2 separate regions of the Homo sapiens genome follow, and region 2 is linked to region 1. The links are contacts of gene promoters, found by promoter capture Hi-C in human tissues and cell types (Jung and others, 2019). All regions are on one chromosome and are shown on one strand. Each heading gives the region's core, a stretch centred on a gene start or on the middle of the fragment in contact. The rest is flanking DNA. Distances are from core to core; before and after follow the strand shown.

Evidence for each region. The method cuts DNA at HindIII sites, captures the fragments that hold promoters and counts their contacts. A contact is called where the count stands out against the background at its distance.
Region 2: a contact is called between the fragment with the promoter of NPLOC4 here and the fragment with the promoter of ALYREF in region 1, in 4 of the 25 tissues and cell types used here (adrenal gland, dorsolateral prefrontal cortex, lymphoblastoid cells and 1 more).

Annotation. Positions count from the first base shown.
Region 1 is chr17:81,889,646-81,892,910 of GRCh38, reverse strand. ALYREF (Aly/REF export factor) reads left to right here and starts at 1,325. Exons shown (of 6, transcript NM_005782.4): 1 at 1,325-1,588; 2 at 2,091-2,222. The coding sequence starts at 1,331. ANAPC11 (anaphase promoting complex subunit 11) reads right to left here and starts at 1,188. Exons shown (of 4, transcript NM_001002248.3): 1 at 1,070-1,188. RefSeq lists a silencer at 769-1,308. The HindIII fragment of the contact is 25,438 bases long and covers 1-3,265 here.
Region 2 is chr17:81,635,113-81,638,472 of GRCh38, reverse strand. NPLOC4 (NPL4 homolog, ubiquitin recognition factor) reads left to right here and starts at 1,361. Exons shown (of 17, transcript NM_017921.4): 1 at 1,361-1,557. The coding sequence starts at 1,543. TSPAN10 (tetraspanin 10) reads right to left here and starts at 1,277. Exons shown (of 4, transcript NM_001290212.2): 1 at 1,067-1,277. RefSeq lists a silencer at 1,422-1,631. The HindIII fragment of the contact is 41,196 bases long and covers 1-3,360 here.

The sequences.
Region 1 (3,265 bases), core at 76-2,575:
ACTCCACTCTGGGTGACGGAGGGAGACCCTGACTCAAAAAACAAAAACAAAAGCAAGTATCTCAAAACAACTTAAAATCCATGAAATGGGCTGGGTGTGGTGGCTCATGCCTGTAATCCCAGCACTTTGGGAGGCCAAGGCGGGCGGATCATCTGAGGTCAGGAGTTCAAGACCACCCTGGCCAACATGGCGAAACCCTGTCTCTATTAAAAATACAAACATTAGCCAGGTATGGTGGCACGTGCCTGTAGTCCCAGCTACTCGGGAGGCTGCCGCTGGAGACTCGCTTGAACCCAGGAGGCAGAGGTTGCAGTGAGCCGAGATCGCCCCACTGCACTCCAGCCTGGGCGACAGAATGAGACTGCCTCAAAAAAAAAAAAAAAAAATCAATGAAATGGCACACTGGTTTTCATTAATAAGTTGCAAAAATAATTTTTTTTTGGAGACAGGGTCTGGCTCTGTCGCCCAGGCTGGAGTGCAGTGGTGCCACCACGGCTCACTGCAGCCTCGACCTCCTGGGCTCAAGCAATCCTCCCACCTCGGCCTCCCAAGTAGCTGGTAGTACAGAAGTGCACCACCATGCCCAGCTCATTTTTTTTTTTAGAGATGGGGGTCTCACGATGTTGCCCCGGCTGGTCTCAAACTCCTGGGCTGAAGCGAACCTCTTGCCTCGGCCTCCCAAAGTGCTGGGATTACAGGCGTGAGGCCCGCGCCCGGCCCGCAAGAAAACTTGTAAAGGATATGACTGGCAAAATGTGACAGTGCAGACTTGGGGGGGCTGCAGGTGGAGACCAAAAAACCAACCCGCAGCTCGTCTGCAGCGGCTGCCGCCCGCCGAAGCCGCGCCCGCCGGACCCCACCGCGAGCCGAGCGCACAGTCCTGGGCGGGAGCGGAAACAAGGACTCCCAGCAGCTCCCAGGCACCCGCCGCGCCCGTAGCGCCCCCAGCGCCCCCAGCCCTGGCCGATCGGGCGGAGCGTGCGGGGAGGGAGGGGCGCGTAGGCTCCGCCTCCAACGGCCGCCGCCCCACCCCCTGCGCCCTCGCACCTTCGCCAACCTAATCACGCACCGCCCTACCCGCCCTTCCGTTGGCAGCGCCGGCGTCCGCGCGGGAAGGTATAAAAACGACCACAGTCGCGGCCCGACTCCCTCAACAGCGCCCGCCGAGTCTCGCACGCCAGTGCGCACGCGCCTCCCCGCCTCACCCCGTCCCGCGCGCGCAGCCGTCCGCCAGCGGCCAATCAGCAGCCGCTCCGAGGCCGTGGCACCGGAAGGCCTCACGCGGCGCCGGAAGTGACGTGCCGGCGTGCTGACGCGCGGGCTCGAGCCGATGCCCGATTCCGCGCCCGCCATGGCCGACAAAATGGACATGTCTCTGGACGACATCATTAAACTGAACCGGAGCCAGCGAGGCGGCCGGGGCGGGGGCCGGGGCCGCGGCCGGGCCGGCTCCCAGGGCGGCCGCGGCGGTGGGGCGCAGGCCGCCGCGCGAGTGAATCGAGGCGGCGGGCCCATCCGGAACCGGCCGGCCATCGCCCGCGGCGCGGCCGGCGGAGGCGGCAGGAACCGACCGGCGCCCTACAGCAGGGTGAGTGCGGAGGCCGGCCGCGCCGGAGAGTGGGAGGGGGCCAGCCGGGGCTGGGGCCGGGGCCGCTCGCGGCGGAGACCCGGGCCGGCGGGTGGATAAGGCTGGTGGAGCGGCCGCCCGGAGGTCCGGAGGGTGCGTGTGGGCGCGGAGGGGGTGGTGGGCGGGAGCGAGGTCGTTCTTTCGGGGTCCGGTCCCGGAGGCTGAGACCCTTCCCAGCTCTTTGTTTGTTCCGGACGTTGGGGCCTCGTGGCAGGAGAGGAGGGGACGCTGGGCGCGGCACAGGCGGCGGGAAGTTAGTCTAAGGGAACTGAAGTTGTGCGGCCGCGGTGGGACCGTGCGGCCTCGGGCTGGGGCAGCTGCAGCGCCGGAGGGAGCGCTGGCGGCCCCGTTTCGGCCGGATCCTCTCAGGCCGGGAAGAGGAAGGGTCCGGAGTAGCCGTGAGGGTCAGGAAAGCCCTGGACTGAGACTCACAGATCTGCTCTTGTTGCGGTTTTTTTTTCAGCCAAAACAACTTCCCGACAAGTGGCAGCACGATCTTTTCGACAGTGGCTTCGGCGGTGGTGCCGGCGTGGAGACAGGTGGGAAACTGCTGGTGTCCAATCTGGATTTTGGAGTCTCAGACGCCGATATTCAGGTAAGAGACGAGGGCTTCTCGGTGAGCCGTTCGCCCTGCACAGGACGGATCGTGATTTTGGGGATGTGGCCCTGAGTCCCCTTCCCGCCTTAGCGAAGGGAGCCCTCCCAGCTCTGAAGGGCTGCAGGACAGACCCAGTGCTAGTAAAGCCGGGGTCAGTGCGCAGGCAGGTGCGAGCCTAGCTGAGCCTGAGGAACTGCTGCTGTTAGTCTGAAGATGGGTTCTGTGAGTGAAAATCCCCTGCCAGGGCTTCCAGTTTCTAACAGGGACAAAGACTGACCAAATGTGAGTGGTTTTTGGCTGTTAGACCCAGCCCAGTTGCTTTTTAAATTTTGTGCCTGTCTTAGTGGGTTAATGTGAGAAAAAGAATCTTCTTTATGTATCTTGTGAAGCACAGGGAGTCTGTTTTTCTGGCTCTGTTTGCCTTGAGTACTGTCTTATAAAGACCTTGTACGCTGTGGTTTTATCACTCCCCACCGCCGTGTCCCGTCAGTGACATGACTCTCAAATCCATCTTTGGTTGAAGCTTTTCTTTTTTAAAAAAAGAAAAATTGAATCCCAATGGCATTTCAACTTGTTTTCTGGTTAAGAAATGACTTTTTGGGAATCAGTTTTGGAGATGGCTGGGCAGGGTTCAGTTGCCCACAGCCCAGCCATTTGCCTTGGGAGGACAGAGTAGGGCCAGTGAGCACTCACAGTGTCTCAACACTTTTTTTAAGGTGGTTTCTAGCATCCACTGGAAACCGCTTTTGGTGAACTCCAGTTCCCGCTGTGTGCCTGCGGCCGGAGTATCCCCACACTCTGGGTTCCCTCTCCAACTCCCAGCCTGCCTGAGGTCAGGGCAGTTTCCATGACAGCGCTTGACTTCAGACTTTGCCGCAGGCTTGAGTAGGAGGAGAGGGAAAGGTGAGCCAGAATCTGCCTTTGGGGGAGGGGCTGGGGTCAGGGCTCCCGAATCTACAGGCCCTTCAAGCTGGTCTGATATCGGACTGCTTCCCTTGCTCTTGATTTTGGCCTTTACCGTTTCTTGGAACAGCCCTTGG
Region 2 (3,360 bases), core at 112-2,611, 250 kb after region 1:
TACAAAATTAGCCAGGCATGGTAGTGTGCGCCTGTAGTCCCAGCTACCCGGGAGGCTGAGGCAGGAGAATCACTGGAACCCAGGAGGTGAAGGTTGCAGTGAGCCGAGATCGCGCCACTGCACTCCAGTGTGGGTGACAGAGTGAGATTCGGACTCAAAAACAAAAAAAAACAAAAAACAAAAAACTCTGATCCCTGAATTCTCAAGGACACTAATTTTTTTTGAGTAGTAATAAAACCTCAGTAACCTGTACAAGCTGGCTCTGTGTGAATTAAACTCTTTATTGCAATTCCCCTGTCTTGATAAAGTCTAGGCAGTGGGCAGGGACAATATGTTGGGTAGTTACAGTGGCACCCTGAGCAAACTAATACAATTACTAACATAATTTAATCAATTAATGTAATTTAACATAGTTTAAAAAAACTGTCACAGTAATTGTGATGTTGTGAAATATGTATACATTTAGTCTTCCGGTTTCCTGGTATCCAACTCCAAAAATCCTTAGAATCTGTGAAGTGACGTCTTTTTTTTTTTTTTTTGAGATGAAGTCTCACTCTGTCGCCCAGACTGGAGTGCAGTGGCACCAACTCAGTTCATTCTAACCTCCGCCTCTTCGCTTCAAGAGATTCTCCGGCCTCAGACTCCCGAGTAGCTGGGATTACAGGTGCCCGCCACCACGCCCAGTTAATTTTTGTATTTTTAGTAGAGACGGGGTTTCACCACGTTGGTCAGGCTGGTCTTGAACTCCTGACCTCAGGTGATCCACCTGCCTCGGCCTCCCAAAGTGCTGGGATTACAGGCGTGAGCCACCGCGTATGGCCTAATTTTGTATTTTGAGTAGAGACGGGGTTTCACCATTTTGGCCAGGCTGGTCTCGAACTTTTGACCTCAGGTGATCCGTCCACCTTGGCTTCCCAAAATGCTGGGATTACAGGTATGAGCCACCGCGCCCGGCCTGAAATGCAGTTTAAACTCGTTTGTTTTTCTTATGTTAAATTTAAAAAATACTTAAAAAAAAAAACATGAAGGTGTGATCCTGCCTTCCTGAAATTGTTTCTCTACTTACCTGTGCATGGAGAGAAGTTTGGAATGCTGTTTCCCCAATTATAATACGCTATAATACGCAGCAGTAGTTATTTTTGGGTGAGACTTCGGATGCTCGTCTTTGCTTCCTTTTTGGACTTTCCTGTGCCGCTTGGGTTTCCGAGGACGAGCAGAAGTAATCTCAGACGCAACTTTCCAAAATCCCCTCCTCCAGTTGCAGGGATGGCGGGGGCGGGTCAGCGGCGCCGCCCTGCGCATGCGTCGAGCCGTTGGTGGGGCCGGAACCTGGTTTCCCGGCCTCGCGCCCGAGGGGAGCGTATTGAGCGAGGCACCGGGACGTCGGCGGCTGGCGGAGCCGGGCGGGCGAAGCTGGAGCGGCGGTGGCGGCGGCGTAGGGAGGCCGGGGCCGGGGCTGAGGCCGCGGCCGGGTCTGCGAGGCCCTTGGGGCGGCAGGCGGCGGCGGCCCGGGGCTCGAGCCCGGAGGCAGGAGCAGCCGCCATGGCCGAGAGCATCGTGAGTGCGGCGGCCGGGCGGGAGCGGGGACGCCGGGATGAGGCAGCAGATTTGCCGGCCTCGGCCTGTGGGGGAGGCGGGCCTGCCGGCGCCGCGACTCGGCCCCTTTCTCTTCTCTCGCCAGGGCTTTCTCTGTAGTGGCTGGGCCCCTCTCGGGGACTTTCACCCCCCTCGGCTGCTTCCCGTCCGTGTCCCTCCCCAGGGGACTTACGACCCCGGTTCCCCGCCCTGGGCAGGGAAAGGCCGAGCCTTTCTAAGCAGGGAGAATGGACTGTGGCGAAGAGAAACCGCCCTCCTTCCCCACCCGTTTCCCGGCTCCAGGAGACTTCCTGGTCTAATTCCAGGGACTCCCAGCCAGTCCTGCCCCTCTCAGAGCCAGGGACACCTCTTATCCTAATCTCCCTCTGATTCTCTCCTCCTGCTCTCCCGCTTCCCAGCAAGTGCCTTGTCATGAGTCACTAAGGAGAGCAGCTCTGCAGACGGGGACGTTACAGAGCTCCCTCCCCACCAGAAGACCTGGGAAAATGAAAACACAGTAACTTGCCGGCTTTGCTCCTTACTTGGAAGGACAACTTGACAATTCCTCTTTAAAAGGAATGTTGTAAATGATGTTGATTTCACTTTTTACCTGAAATTGAAATTGTCGGCCCGGCGCAGTGGCTCACGCCTGTGATGTCAGCACTTTGGGAGGCCGAGGCGGGTGGATCACCTGGGGTCAGGAGTTCGAGACCATCCTGGCCAACATGGCAAAATCTTGTCTCTACTAAAAATACAAAAAATTAGCCGGGCGTCATGGCGCACTGTAATCCCAGATACTTGGGAGGCTGAGGCAGGAGAATTGCTTGAACGCGGGAGGTGGAGGTTACAGTGAGCTGAGATCCCTCCATGGCACTCCAGCCTGGGCTATAGAGCGAGACTGCGTCTCAAAAAAAAAAAAAAAATTGTCACACACTCCTCCTTAACGTAAAAAATATCAGTGACAAATCAGAAAACCAGTCCCTCGTTAAGTTGTGAGAAGTTTCTTCCCAAAAGTAAATGTGATGGGAAAAAAACTAACTGACCATTGGACAGGAGCATTTTGGTTAATATTAAGGAAGATTTGGGATTTCTGGGGGAAGCTTAGCAGTATTGGGTGAAGAGTAATGTTCATACTGTAGCATTGTGACAGTCTCTGCAGTTTTGCCAGGTGTTGTCTAGAATAGGTCTCCAGGCCCGGCGCGGTGACTCACACCTGTAATCCCAGCACTTTGGGAAGCCCAGGTGGGTGGATCACCTGAGGTCAGGAGTTCAAGACCAGCCTGGACAACATAGTGAGCCTAGGTGGCGTCACTGGACTCCACCCTGGGCGACAGAATGAGACTGTCTCACACACACAAACAAATGGGTCTCCAGGAGAACCTAGCACTTATTTGCAAGGCTGTTCTCTGGTGGTTCCATCATCTCTCCAGTCAGGGGCCCTCTTGGTGCCTCCATGTTTCCCAACCTGGAGATGAGTGGAATGAATATATGGCCCAGGAGAAACTTAGGAAACGTCGACTCCTTTTTTTTTTTTTTTTTTAACCTTATTTTATTTTTTTGAGATGGAGTCTCACTCTGTCGCCCAGGCTGGAGTTCAGTGGTGCGATCTCTGCTTACTGCAACCTCCGCCTCTCGGGTTCAAGAAATTCTCCTGCCTCAGCCGAGTAGCTGGGGTTGCAGGTGCTCGCCAACACGCATGGCTGATGTCTTTTTTATTTTTAGTGGTGATGGGGTTTCACCGTGTTGGCCAGGTTGATCTCGAACTTCTGACCTCGTGATCCGCCC